Regions from separate parts of the Homo sapiens genome. Here regions 1, 3, 4 and 5 are each linked to region 2. The links are contacts of gene promoters, found by promoter capture Hi-C in blood cells and fetal thymus (Javierre and others, 2016). All regions are on one chromosome and are shown on one strand. Each heading gives the region's core, a stretch centred on a gene start or on the middle of the fragment in contact. The rest is flanking DNA. Distances are from core to core; before and after follow the strand shown. Region 1 overlaps ARHGAP21 (Rho GTPase activating protein 21). Region 2 holds the start of PRTFDC1 (phosphoribosyl transferase domain containing 1). Region 3 has its middle 150 kb from the start of ARHGAP21. Region 4 overlaps ARHGAP21 (Rho GTPase activating protein 21). Region 5 overlaps ARHGAP21 (Rho GTPase activating protein 21).

Region 1 (2,700 bases), core at 10-2,509, 260 kb after region 2:
TGCTCACACTAATCAGAATGTAAGACAGCTTGATCCTCTTACCCTGAAAGGCTTGTTATCTTGTCTCTAAGGGGTCTGCTACCCCAGCTGATGACCTCTCAGTTTCTGTGTATTTTAAGCTTCCTTTCCAGTTCCCAGGGATTTTGCTTTGAGTTCTGCTACTATATTTTAAGACATTCCTGTTAACCCCAATTTGTAATTTTATATGAGAGCTGTGTTCTGAACACCAATGACACCATGTACTTTTCTAATTTAATCTTAAAGACGCTGGAGACTATATTGTATCTGCCTTTCTATGTTTTATATGTGTGTGTGTGTATGTGTGTGTTTATGTGTGTGTGTGTATATATATATGTGTATATATATATATATATTTTTTTTTTTGAGATGGAGTCTCCCTCTGTCACTCAGGCTGGAGTGCAGTGGCGCGATCTCGGCTCACTGCAACCTCCACCTCCTGGGTTCAAGCGATTCTTTTGCCTCAGCGTCCTGAGTAGCTGGAACTACAGGCACATGCTACCACACCTGCTAATTTTTGTATTTTTAGTAGAGACAGGGTTTCACCATGTTGATCAGGATGGTCTCGAACTCGCCACCTCAGGTGATGTGCCTGTCTTGGCCTCCCAAAGTGCTGGGATTACAAGAGTGAGCCACCACGCCCATCCTGTTTTTCTATGTTATTTATATTATGGGGCACTTAGAATAGCATGTTATATGCCAAGATGTCTAGCCTCACTAGTAATGAAAGAATAAAAAAATTAAAACATTAAGAACCATTTTCATCTTTAACATATTTGCAAAGATGAAAAAAATACTCAGTGTTGGCTGGAATATGGATATAGGAATCTCATGCTGTCAGTGGATTTGGTTCCCTGCTTTTCTGGATGGCACTTTAAAATATTGTGTCTAAAACTAAAAACAAACAAAAAGTAAACATTTGAGCCAGCAGCTCCATTCTTAGGAATTTATCCTAATGTAATTCTCAATGGTTTTTCATAGACACTGGTCTACAAGGCAGTTGTAGTTATAATAATAGTAGTAGTAATGTAGTGTAAAAAAGATAATGAACAAAGAGAAGAGTGAACAAATAAAATGTTATTTATGTAATGAAATACCATGTAGTCTTTAAAAATAATGATGTAGGTATATGTAATTGATATGGAAAGACTTACATAAAATATTGAATAAAAAGAAATAGGTTAGAAGATTTTCCTAAAGTATGTATTTTTTGTGTGTATGTGTATATACACACACACACACACACATATACATATATACATATACATACATATACATATATACATGTATATATACACATACATATACATATATACATGTATATATACACATACATATACATATATACATATATATACACATACATATATACATATATATACACATACATATACATATATACATATATATACACACACATATATACATACATATAGATATAATTATTTTTGAGACAAGAGACCTTGACCCTGATGTCCAGGCTGGAGTGCAGTGGCGTGATCACGGCTCACTGCAGCCTCAACCTTCCGGGCTCAGATGATCCTTCTACCTCAGCCTCCCGGGTAGCTGAGACTACAGGCACGTGCCACCATGCTGGGCTAATTTTTTGTATTTTTTGTAGAGATGGGGTTTTGCCATATTGCCCAGGCTGGTCTTGAATTCCTGGGCTCTGGCGATCCGCCCACCTTGGCCTCCCAAAGTGTTGGAATTATAGGTGTGAGCCACCACTTCCAGCCAGTGTATATTTATGTATGAAAAAGTCTGGAAGAATATGTATATGTCTCGAAGTATTGACATAATTTTCTCTAGACGGGGAATGACAGGTAAGTTAAATTATTTCCTTTTTGCTTAGATTTATTTTCTGGTGTATCCTAAGTGAACATACATTATGTTTTCATAAATATAAATTAGAAAAAAAATGATACATTAGCCAATAGCTATTATCTTCAGATTGTTAAAACAATTTGTTAGTGGTATGGTGGAAAAGTTCCAAGATCAGAAGATTGGAAACTGAGGTTCTAGTCCAAGCTGTGTCACTAATTAGCTATGAGGCCACCAGTGAGTCTTTCAGGGACTCAGTGTCTGTATTTGTAAAATAAATTGGCTCAACTAGATCTATGATTTTAAAAGTCTCTATCAGACTGTTAGTGTTTCCAAGGAATTAGTAGAGTAGGTTTCTGTACAAACGCCCTTGCCTCTCTCCCAAGCAGAGCAGCTCTGTATACAGTATTCAATATTTGTATATTGAATTTCTGTTCTAAGCTATCTTTCAGCAAAAGGTCTCAGAGATTTGGAGTGGGAGGAAGGGAAAGAAAAAGGAAACCCCATCTCTGAGATTGAGTAATTCTAGGTATATTTGATGCTACTCCCTTTAAGCTTCCATCTTTCTTCCTATTCATGGGGCATGGGTTCTTTTAGGACGGAGCTTAACTCCTGTGTCAGGATGCCCTTGCTCTCCTGGAAATAGCAGACTATGACAGTCAACCTTCACTGAGAACTAATGAGTAAATGGGTGATTCACGTCTGATATGAGACTGCCTTCACCCTAGCTGATACATAGAGACCCTATATTTTTACACATGTGAAAAACCATTTCGTCATCTTCTATAAGTTGTTTCCCCATCTAGTCTTGGCCTATTGGAGCAGTACTCTCTTACTGGTCTGTCCTGCCTTAATTTGGAC
Region 2 (2,700 bases), core at 57-2,556:
GCGCTGGCGCTTAGAAACGACATGAAGAGCCAGCCCTGCTGAGCAGGACCAGGGCGCCAAGTCTGAATGACTAATATTTTTCCAACCTAGAACGTCATTAACCGATTGATAACTATTTCCCCTTTAAACTAGGCAAAATCAGCATTCCTCTCCCCTCTGTGTGCCAGAATTCGAAGATGAACAAAAGACGCCTGCATCAGGAAAACTGTGTTAAGTTCTCTTGGATTCAGGGCTTCGACCCGAATTGGGCTGAGTGAATGAAGACGCTGGTGAGATGTCAGGGACCTGGGGAATGAAGACACACCCAGAAAAAGCAGGAACCTACAGGAGTGGACAAAGAACCGGAGCATAGGCATGTGAGAGGGGTTGAAATGAACAACAGACTCATACAAGAAGGATTTCTAATCAGAAAAGAGCGATTGCTTTAGTAAAGCTGCAACCTGGAACAATTACAATCTGACCAGATGTTCTTGCAAAACTGGTAAAGCAGAGAATGTGTAAAAATCTCTCCCCCTCCTCCCCTGAATGCAGTTGACGAAAGGCCGAAAGGCTGGATCCTCAAAGCCCAGATCTGATCACTGCAGATCCGGGCCACCCTAAAAGCAATCGGGTGTAATCTTTCCAGCTCCAGGCCCTGGGATGAGGGAGGTGGGGGAAGGTGGAGAAAGGTGGAGGAAGATGGAGGGAGGTGAGGGGAGGTGGAGGGAGGTGAGGGGAGGTGGAGGGAGATGAGCGGAGGTGGAGAGAGGTGGGTGGCGGCTCCAAGGTTTGAAAACACATCCAGGACACTTCCCATCCTCCAAGAGCACGCTGGCTCACAGGCTCTTTCACGCTTCTGCTTGGGACAATCGCGTGCATGAAATCTGGCAGGGAGGAGTCAAGGAGATTGTTAGCCCGAGGGCTGGGACGGTGGATCTGGGAATCAGGGGCCTGGGGGACACGTTCTCTTCCTGCCGCGGGCTTCCTGCTCCAGAGTCCCCGCGGGGCTTGGCGGCGGGGCCGGGGGCTGCACGCGACCATCCGGCAGGGGGCGGCGGCGACAGCGGCGGCCGCAAGGGACGCGTCCGGGGCCCGCGCTCAGGGGGAGCGGTAGCGGCTTGGCAGCTGCTCCCCGCGCCCCCGCGGCCTAGCCAGGGGAGGGGGCGCAGCGCCGGGGCCATGGATCCGCGTCAGGCCGCTGCTTCCCGCCGGCGGGCCCGGGGCGGGGCGGACCCGTCCCCGTCCCCGTCCCCGTCCCCGTCCCCGTCCCCATCCCCACGTCCCATCCCCCACGCAGCCTTCGCCCTCCCTGCTCCTTCCCGCGCCGTCTTCCCTTCCCGCGTTCCCCGGGAGAAACATGGCCGGGAGCAGCGAGGAGGCGCCAGACTACGGGCGAGGCGTCGTGGTAAATGCAAACTCCCTATTTTGGGGCTCGGCCCGCTCCCCTCCCTCCCTGGCACCCTGCTTGTAGATTAAATGCTTGCCGTGCGTCGGGGGAGAGAGAGGGCCACCGCTTTGTTCTCCCTCCCGGCGGGGATCGCTTCCATCCTCGGACCCGGGCCTCCTCTCCCCGCCCCCAATCTGACGAAACTCTGAGTCCCGTCCCTTCACCCCGAGTTCCCAGCGTCCCCCCGTGTCCTCCGGCCGGTAGCTCGCTCCTGCAGCGTCCCGCCGGCGCCCAGCCGTCCCCATCCCCGCGAGCCACGGGGAGTCGCTTCTGCGAGCCCGGCAGGGCCCCAGAGACCCCCGCGTGCTGCTCTGGAGGCCTCCTTCTTCCTGGGTCTCCTCTTGACTCCTCCAGGGCGGGCTTCAAGTTTTGTTTTTAAAAAGCACACTGAGGGGTTTTGAAGGCAGCTAGGAAATAAAGTAGCTCAAGTGGACAGAGCTTGAGATTTGAAGCCTTTGGTACCCAGGTTGGGGGCTCTCTGGCAGTGGAGGCCTCTGCAGGAGCTCTAGGACACGCTGGCGGCTCCTGAGTGACCTATGGCTTGTCTGTAAAAGGGAGCAACAGCAAGCTGGGCTCTGGAGCCAATTGGGAGGATGCATGTAAAATATCTAGCAGTGTGTCCGGATGGGAGGGTGTGGGGTGCTGGTTTCCCAGAACTGAGCCTCATTAACCCTGAGAATCCTGACGGTGTCAGCCAGAGGGTACCCATCTCTCAGTGTGCTAGGATCCAACCCGTTCTTGACCTTGTGGCCACGTCCTCCCTGCTCCCTGAGAAGTGGTTTTCCTAGAAGGTGGTGGTTATAACTTGTGTCAGGTTCAGTGTGAAACTCAATGGTGGTGAGGATGGTGGGTGGGGCTAACTTGCCATCTCTTTCCAGGGATCAGCTTGTCATTCACAGATAATCTGTTTATGAATATGAATGGCCTGAACTAAAGTAAGTGGGCTGGGGAGGGAAACGTGTCACATTCAGACAGAAGGGTCAGGTTGAAATGTGGGGCTCAGTGCTTAATTTAACAGCAGGACCTTTCCTTCTGAAAGGATGAGGAGTTGATTTATTCATTCCACACGTTTATTGTCCTGCTGGGTTGTAGGAGGTGCTGTAGGCTCTGGGGTGCAAAAGACAAAGGCCTTGTCTTCATGAGCTTGCGTTCTAGAGAAGACATAGGCAAGCAGTGTGTAAACAAATAGAGAAAATTTCAAATAGAGATATGTGCAATAGGAGGAGGGTAACAGGATAGAGGGTAATTGGAGGAGAAGGGGGGAGTGATGCTTT
Region 3 (2,700 bases), core at 51-2,550, 380 kb after region 2:
CTTATAAGAATTATAGGACCAAACTGCCTGACTTCAAATCTAGACCTTACCATTTACAAAGTGGATGTGTTTGGACAGGCTACCCAACTTACATATTAGTTTTCCTCATATGTAAAATGAGAGAAATAATAATCCTTGTCTCGGTTATTGTGTTTTCTGTTATTTTATATCTGGATCCAATAGCTATCATACCTTCAGTTTTAGCAGGTTTGATTCTTTGATATTTCTACTGACTCGTGCCTATGGTGATCTGCTTTCTCATATGGTAAAGCATGTGTTCACAGTTTATACAAATCAGGGTAGCAAACTTATTTTATCATTATCTTTGAGCCAGAAAAATAAATGTTTGTCATGGTGTACATAGTTCAGTATACCCAAATGATACTTCATCTTTTTTTTAATCTTTGAGAATACCCAACGAGTGCTTTTTAAAGACTAATGGGCAGGAGAAATCATAAACCATATTGATAAATGCACATTTACACAGTGACTTTGGAAGACAGCGTAAGATTCCTAGTAGCTCAGACTCAGGAGTCTCAGGAAGGTTTTCTTAGAGGATTCCTTATCTTAAGAATCTGAGAATAAAAGTCTATCGGTAAGTAAAACCACCAAGAGCCACCGTGAAGCCAGGTGACTTTATAATAATACACTCCCCTGTGGCTAACCTCAGATACCAAGAAATCAAAAACCGTTAACCTGCGCAATAAGCCTTGACATTTTTAGACTATACTGTGGACACCCCCCCGCCAAAAAAAAGTCTCCTTTATTTCATGTTTTGAGCAGCCAGAGAGCCTTGCATCTTTATCATTCTCTCTCCGTTTTGGCTCACGTGACTGACTTGAAAAGCCTATTAAAGTTTCCCTTAGGCCATGTTGACTTTCTTACAACATTCCACATTTTTTCCTTCTCATGAATTCTTAGAAGGAGAAATATCCAATTATTCCCTTTCCATTGGCGTGACCTCTTCTGCAAAGCTACCTGTGGCCCCACAGGATGCTTGAGCCGTGGGGTAACGAGGGGAGCTAGAGCTTTGTTGACAGACCCTCTTGGTTCCCGGGGGTTCATTATTGATTAGCAGACACTTCCCATCCCTGCCCTGAGAAAACATCATTCAAACAGATTTATCCTCAAGAAATGAGCAAAATAATCTTATGCTTGGAGATTTCTCATGGAGGGGTTGGAGAAAACAGAACAAAAACTTAAATCATGTAGTCAACCACAAAAACAGAAATGTGGCTTTTTCTTGTTTAAAGGAGTGTGGTATTACAGTTCTAGTATTGACAGCATTTTAATTGTTAGAATATAGTCATCATCCCATTCCTCCAGCCTATTTGAGCAGAAATCATGCAAACAAAAGTCATAAAACTGTAGCTTTAGCATTTCTTCCTTCCTTGGGTTTCTTACCCAGCTGAGAAGGGGCTGAAAACTGAAGCTCCACCCCTGATGTCCTTTCTTATGTAACCTTGTCCCAGAATTTGTCATGATCATGCCCTCCAGCTGCAGCTCCTGATAGCTTTTTCCAGCCTGTCCCTCACCTAATTATTTTCATCTCATGTGGTCTTACTGAACTGATTGCTTGCCTGTGGCCATAATAAGACAGTGTTCAAGGCGAACAAAAAGATATCACATAAAAATCCAGACTTTTTAAGAACTGGAAGGTCTAGCAGCGCTAGTCCCCCTACAGGGTAGTGGCAGGTTGCAGTCACCCCTTAGAGAGTGCATGTGTGCTCCCCAGTTTTCTCAGCCCCACCAGGCTGCCTCCCCTACCTGCCTGGACCCGCTGCACAACAGTACTGCAATCACTGCTGTAAACCCCAAATTACTACCCTCACTCCTGGCATGAATGAGATGTCCTTGAATTAGAAATACAACAACCCTTTGGCCTCTCCAGCCAGTGCCAATACATTCTACCCAACTGACTCTACGTCTCTACCCAATCCCAGCAATTCATCTGGGATAAGAAAGAATAGGAAAGGACAATTGAGAAGCAGTTCTCCTTTGGACATACGCATTTCCGTACTGCCAAATTCCCTGCCTCCACCACTTCGTGTATAACAGCCAGCATTCACTGAGCACATACTGTGTGCCAGGTCCTGTCCCAAGTATTTGATATGCATCAATACACAGGTCTCACAACTGTGCAGTAAACAGATTGTGACGCAGAGTCCCGGTTATTTCCCAGTACTGCTTCTTAGAGACCACACTTCTCAGCCTCCTTCACAGCTAGGTGTGGCCACGGGACTAGATGAAGTGGTTTAACGCAAACTCTAGCCACTGCGTGCACACGCAGGGGGCATGGGCTTCTATATGCTTTCCTCTTACCACAGACTGGACACAGCCCGGCTTCCACATCCCCTTGAAACACGCAGGAATCTCTAAACGAGAGCCTTGCACAGTGGATCCCAAATAGATGACACTGTGGGCCGCCTACCTCTGGGCTGCTTGGATATGAGAAATCAACTTCTCTCGTTTCAACCAGTATTACTTCGGGTTTTCTGTCATGTGCAGCTGAACCTAGCCCTGGATGATACAGAAGTATAATATCCCTGTCTTATGATGAAGAAACTCAGGCACAGAGAGATTCAGCCATTTGTCCAAGGTTAGCTCAGGACAATTTTAGGAAAGGAAAATCTGAGATCTCCACCTAGATCAGATCCCCCCACCCCCAGGATGTACTAACGGTTAGTGATGGTGTAGGAT
Region 4 (2,700 bases), core at 177-2,676, 360 kb after region 2:
TCCTCTGCACTGATGGTGTCGTTGTATGTGTGCTACACTACTAGTTAACATGTTAGGTGTGCAGCAGTTGCTTTTCTTTTTTTTCCATTTTGGCTTTTTGAGTTTGGCAGTGGTTTTTACCCCCCTGGGATGTTATTAGGGTTGATTAAAGTTATTTTAATCAAATACTGAATTCAAAATATATCAGATACTATAAGATTTAATGAAGGAAAACAAAAGATCCATACCTTTGACAATCTGATAATTATTATACAAGGAATACCAAATATGGAAATTAATGTAGCTTCAGAAGATTGGTTTCAAGTAAAAATTGGTCAGAAATAATATTTCCAGACACTGGGTGTTTACACATTAGTGATTTTGATGTACTAGAGGGAAAAATCTATAACCTTTCATGTATTTTTCAGCACTTCTTCCACTTTTCATTTCTGAAGGGGAGGGAGTTTTTTGTTTTTTTTTTCTTTTTTTCTTCAAACAGGATCTTACTCTGTCGCCCAGGCTGCAACCTCGACCTCCTCCCACCTCAGCCTCCGGAGTAGCTGGGACTGCATGCACACACCATCGTGCCTGACTAATTTATTTTTAGTAGAGATGAGGTCTTGAACTCCTGGGCTCAAGCAGTCCACCTGACTCGGTCCCCCAAAGTGCTGGGACTACAGGTGTGCCTGTAATCTTCTGCAAGTTTTTTTTTCCTTTGATTTTAACATTTTTATCAGTTAATCCAGCTTTGGTAACCCTCGTTTTGAACCAAATCAGTTGTTTTCAATCAAAGTCTTCTTGGAAAAAAATGAATGCTAATTATGCATTGCACATTATCATTAATGCAGAAAAAACGTTTTGTACACATTTGCTTTGAAAATCCTAACTAGGCCACTTGTGGTGGCTGACACTTGAGGCTGGAGAACTGCTTGAGTCCACGATTTCGAGACCTGCCTTGGCAACATAATAAGATTCTATCGAGAGTGCAGTAAGCTGTGATCATGCCACTGCACTGCAGCCTGGGTGAACGTGAGACCCTGTCTCAGAAAAAAAAAAAAAAAAAAAAAAAAATCTTGCTAGAAAGCATTATTTTTTTAATCTACATCAAAGCTATTTTTCTGTTTATTCTTTTTCATCAAAAATCCTACAATGGCAATTTCAGCCTACTTCCTTAAGAAAAATTCTGGTATTTCCCAGTATCATCCTTTCTTTCAGATGGAACCAAGAAACCTAGCAATAGTGTTTGGTCCCACCCTTGTTCGAACATCAGAAGACAACATGACCCACATGGTCACCCACATGCCTGACCAGTACAAGATTGTAGAAACGCTCATCCAGCACGTAAGTTCATGCTTCATCTCTGTAAGTTCATGCTTCATCTCTGCAAGAAAATTCATTTTCACGGGCAGCCGCTATTTGGTCAGACAGAGGTTGGTTGTAATATCTTTCCCTAAGAAAATTACCCTTTTTCTATACTATCCTCCAAGATCTCAGTATATTTAAAGGCTTGTTTAATTTCTCTTCTCACCTTTTTTAAATTTTAGCATGACTGGTTTTTCACAGAAGAAGGTGCTGAAGAGCCTCTTGTAAGTATTGTCTGTCAGCATTTGTACTCAGTAGTTTCATTTGGGACACAAGATCCTGGCGCGCCAACAATGTCAACTTCCTGCTTTGCTATTGTCCGCTTTGCGCCCCGGAAGCAGGTCTCTAGCTCAGTTTCTGATCTAATGAATATACAAGTACGGTGCTTATTTTGCAGTTAATTATGCGTAAACAATGTAAACACATTAAGCACAGGTGCTTTACTTAGTAATGTGTCTTTTACTAAATGTTGTTTAAATTTTAAAGAAAGTATCTTTGAAGAGATGATGAAGAGATCTTTGTTTATTAACCATAGACAACAGTGCAGGAGGAAAGCACAGTAGACTCCCAGCCAGTGCCAAACATAGATCATTTACTCACCAACATTGGAAGGACAGGAGTCTCCCCAGGAGATGTATCAGGTAACTCTTGCCTGGGCAGTCTTGACCTCTAGGCTGAAAGCTACATTCTTACAATATGAAAGAGCAAATCAATCATAGTGAATTGTTACTTATGATTTTTTTCTTTTTCTCTTCCTTTCTACTAATAAAAAACCTTAATCTTCCTTTTCCAATTGATCTGAATTATCTTCCAGTGACTCTAATGCCATTGGCAGTGCATGCAGTTGTAATGTTTGTCAGAATGGAACTATGAGGGAAATGAGCATGCAAACCACTGTTTTGTTCTTTTTTTTTTTTTTTTTTTTAATTCACAGTTTCCATGTAATAGTCATCACAAGGTAAAACAGATATATGCTACTGAGTATGTGGTTGCTGTGATGGCAGAAAGTATGATCTGGGCTGTATAAGTAGTTCTTATTCTTGAGCCAGGAGTTCTGTTTAAAAGCAGCAAGTTAAATCTGTTGAACTGGTAATGGGCACCATTTTCATAAATACATTTTCATAAATACAGTGTATTATTTGTCACAGTAAAAAGCCAGCCTATTTGACATTTATTTTCTTCTGTTTCCTGTTGCCACCCTAATGCTTGGTTAAGTATTAGTTCTTCTAGGCTCTTTTGATGAAAACTTTCTCCTGCCAAACTGTTGCACTAATCTAGCATGTTGTTTTACACAATGTTCTCCCTTTGTCTCTAGTTCTTGTTTTAGTCCTAAAGGGTTTTTTCAGCTCTTACTGACAC
Region 5 (2,700 bases), core at 8-2,507, 300 kb after region 2:
TAAAGTCAGGCCTTGATCTGATAATTGGTGTTGAGTAGCAGACATCAAGATGGAAGCATAAACTAAACCAGGATGAGATATGCAGAAGGCTTATTGGGGGCAATGCTTGTAAAGGATAAAGAAGAAAGCAAGAGAGGACAGGGGAAAACCTGAGACCATGAGACAGGCCTGACCCCTGTGAAAGAAGAGAGGAAAGGAAAGAATTGGTAGGAAGGGCCCCAGCCTGCAGCACAGATCTAAGAATGCCTCTGCTAGGCCAGTGAAGAGTCCCCAGGCAAACACTTGTCTTTTAGAAGAATCCTGCTTTGGGCAGGAATGGGGAAATGTGGCCTCTGTGTGAACATGGTGATGGATCCAAAGGGCGGCAGCTGGGGCTGTCAGTCACAGTCTTCCCCTCGGCAAGTTCTTCAGAAGGAGGTGTGCAGAGGAACAGCCCACCTCCATGCTTGACATGGTTGGCCTTTTTCTTTTCATCCCTGCTCACAGGTTGTATTCTTTTGGGGACCCCAAGTGAAAACATGGTGTTTTCTAGAGCTCTTTTCCTTGGCTGGCCCTGAAGTTCCTTTTTTTTTTTGTCTCCTCAGCCTTTTGAGATTGATGGAAGCTCTGTGCAGCTGGTCAGTCTCTCAGCCATTACTTTGGAAACAGGAAACGCCTCAAGGTGAACAGTTGTGCAAAGCACTGGACTCACCTCTCTGGATTTCCATCTATTTGGAAGCTTGTCCCATTAAGCCATCTCTGCCTTGGTAGCTTTCTGGTGCCTTCACACAAATGTGGTTATACATCGTCTAGCTTTTCTGGCTATTATTCATGGGTGGAAGAGTTGATTCTGTAACCAGCTAGTTCACTGTAGGTAGATTTAGAAATTTTCACGTATGTATTTAATGTAATTAATTATGTATTTATTGTTTAATCTTTTATTTTGAACTTTCTCTTGGTTCATTCTTATATTTTTCTCTTTTCTGAGATTAAAAAATAATTTTTCTTTTATACTTTCTACTTGAAAGGTTAAAGAACATTATTACCCTTCTTTCAGTGGTTATCCTAGAAACAATATGCAAGCACATCGAAGTCTGATGCTACTTAAAATTCTGTTCTACTCTTACAAAATATAAGGACCTTAGAACATTTTAACTCCATTATCTCCTTCCTATCTACATGTTGCTTTTTTTGTTGTTTTTTAAAGAGATGGGGTCTCACTGTGTTACCCATGCTGATCTTGAACTCCTGGCCTCAGGCAGTCCCCCTCAGGCACTACTCAGAGCCTCAGCCTCCTGAGTAGTTGGGATTATAGGCATGAGCCACTGCGCCTGGCTCCAACATGTTACTTATATGTGATGTAATTCTCTCTCCTTTTTTCTGTGAAATATCTGTGTTCTGCCCTTATTTTTGGAAGGTATTTTTGCTGGGTACACAATTATTCAGTAATATTGAAGATATTATTTCATTCTTACTCCATCTCCCATGGCTACTAAATTCTCTAGTTTTTCTTTTTCTTCTTCTTTTTTGTCTTTCTGGTCTGCATTCTAGTTAATTTCTTCCAATATATGTTCAGTAAATTTCTTTTTAGTTAAGTTTTAAAGTTTGATTATGAGAAGTTTTTTAGGGTACTGCAGCAAATATGCTTGATCACTTCTTATAGTTTCTTCACCTGGACTACTTTTAGTTTTATCTTTTTATTTCTTCAGACATGGTAAGCGGAATTTTTTTATAATCTGTGCCTGGTGATTCCTTTATCAGAAGTTTTTGAATCTGTTTCTCTTGTTTGTTTTCTCTGGTTTGTTTTCTAAGCTTTAGCTTAGAATATTGTTGTTTTCCATGGTTTTTTTTTTTTAACTGCTTTGTGTTTTATGACCTTCAAAAATTATTACTTGGGGATTCTTTGAGATCTAAGACAAAAAATCTCTTCTCCAAGTTGATTGGTGTTTGCTTTTGTCCAGGGACAGGCTGTTACCTGAGTTAGCCTAAAAATCCATGTCCATGTGCAGTTTAGCCCATGGCCACTTCTTAGAGTTATCTTTCCCCTTCCTTTTTTTCTTTTTCCTACTTTGTTCAGCTCCAAAGTAGCCTCTGGGTTGGTGGGGGCATTATTTGTAGTTACCCTTCCTCTTAAGTGCGGGAGAGTCTCCTGATAGAGATTCCTAACTGGACTTGGGCTTTTTCTTCTATTTGCTGGGTAGAAAAGTCCTTAAAGTGGATGCTCATGTTCAGTGGCCTGGGCATATATTGTTTCACTGGTATCAATAATATTTTAGGATATAATTTTCTAGCAGCTAGGTTTTACATGTATATACACTATGGTTCAGATATAAATTACCCATCTCTCTATATTAGCCCAGTTAGCTAGTACATGGATAAGTCATTAGATAATTTGCTACCCATGTATTTGTCCTATTAAGATGTAGTTATAATAAAATTACCAAGTTATCTGTAGTTTGCTATTATGGGTAATATTTCCTCATGTAAACTGTATAAACTCACTTATATACATATATACACATGTACACATATGCATACATAAGCACACACAAAGGTAATAAAAGTGATTCTATATGTAGCTAGTAACAAGTTAATTTCAAAATATTTATTTTGTTTTTCTCTAGTGGACAGGTGGGAAAATATGGGAAAGGAGGTCTCCAGGGTTGTCTTCTGACTGACTAGGACATGATTAAAACACTTGGGAGCCTCAGATATAAAGGG

What was found. The method cuts DNA at HindIII sites, captures the fragments that hold promoters and counts their contacts. A CHiCAGO score of 5 or more calls a contact.
Region 1: a fragment that was not itself captured here is called in contact with the fragment with the promoter of PRTFDC1 in region 2 in 12 of 17 cell types (non-activated CD4 T cells, total CD4 T cells, naive CD8 T cells and 9 more); the score reaches 10.4 in non-activated CD4 T cells.
Region 3: a fragment that was not itself captured here is called in contact with the fragment with the promoter of PRTFDC1 in region 2 in 1 of 17 cell types (total CD4 T cells); the score reaches 5.2 in total CD4 T cells.
Region 4: a contact is called between a fragment that was not itself captured here and the fragment with the promoter of PRTFDC1 in region 2, in 2 of 17 cell types (total CD4 T cells and naive CD8 T cells). The highest score is 6.3, in total CD4 T cells.
Region 5: a contact is called between a fragment that was not itself captured here and the fragment with the promoter of PRTFDC1 in region 2, in 13 of 17 cell types (non-activated CD4 T cells, total CD4 T cells, naive CD4 T cells and 10 more). The highest score is 14.2, in non-activated CD4 T cells.

Annotation. Positions count from the first base shown.
Region 1 is chr10:24,688,512-24,691,211 of GRCh38, reverse strand. The region is part of intron 2 of ARHGAP21 (Rho GTPase activating protein 21); the gene reads left to right. Among named protein-coding and RNA genes, the nearest start is that of ARHGAP21, 34 kb to the left of the region's middle. The HindIII fragment of the contact is 2,275 bases long and covers 122-2,396 here.
Region 2 is chr10:24,951,212-24,953,911 of GRCh38, reverse strand. It overlaps PRTFDC1 (phosphoribosyl transferase domain containing 1), which reads left to right and starts at 1,306. Exons shown (of 9, transcript NM_020200.7): 1 at 1,306-1,384. The coding sequence starts at 1,337. It also overlaps a transcript of THNSL1 not described here. RefSeq lists a silencer at 956-1,145. The HindIII fragment of the contact is 20,553 bases long and covers 1-2,700 here.
Region 3 is chr10:24,573,791-24,576,490 of GRCh38, reverse strand. No RefSeq gene overlaps it. Among named protein-coding and RNA genes, the nearest start is that of ARHGAP21, 150 kb to the left of the region's middle. The HindIII fragment of the contact is 9,489 bases long and covers 1-2,700 here.
Region 4 is chr10:24,590,507-24,593,206 of GRCh38, reverse strand. It overlaps ARHGAP21 (Rho GTPase activating protein 21), which reads left to right. Exons shown (of 26, transcript NM_020824.4): 22 at 1,195-1,320; 23 at 1,524-1,565; 24 at 1,877-1,982. Among named protein-coding and RNA genes, the nearest start is that of ARHGAP21, 130 kb to the left of the region's middle. The HindIII fragment of the contact is 4,332 bases long and covers 1-2,700 here.
Region 5 is chr10:24,648,840-24,651,539 of GRCh38, reverse strand. All of the region lies in intron 4 of ARHGAP21 (Rho GTPase activating protein 21), which reads left to right. Among named protein-coding and RNA genes, the nearest start is that of ARHGAP21, 74 kb to the left of the region's middle. The HindIII fragment of the contact is 1,073 bases long and covers 721-1,793 here.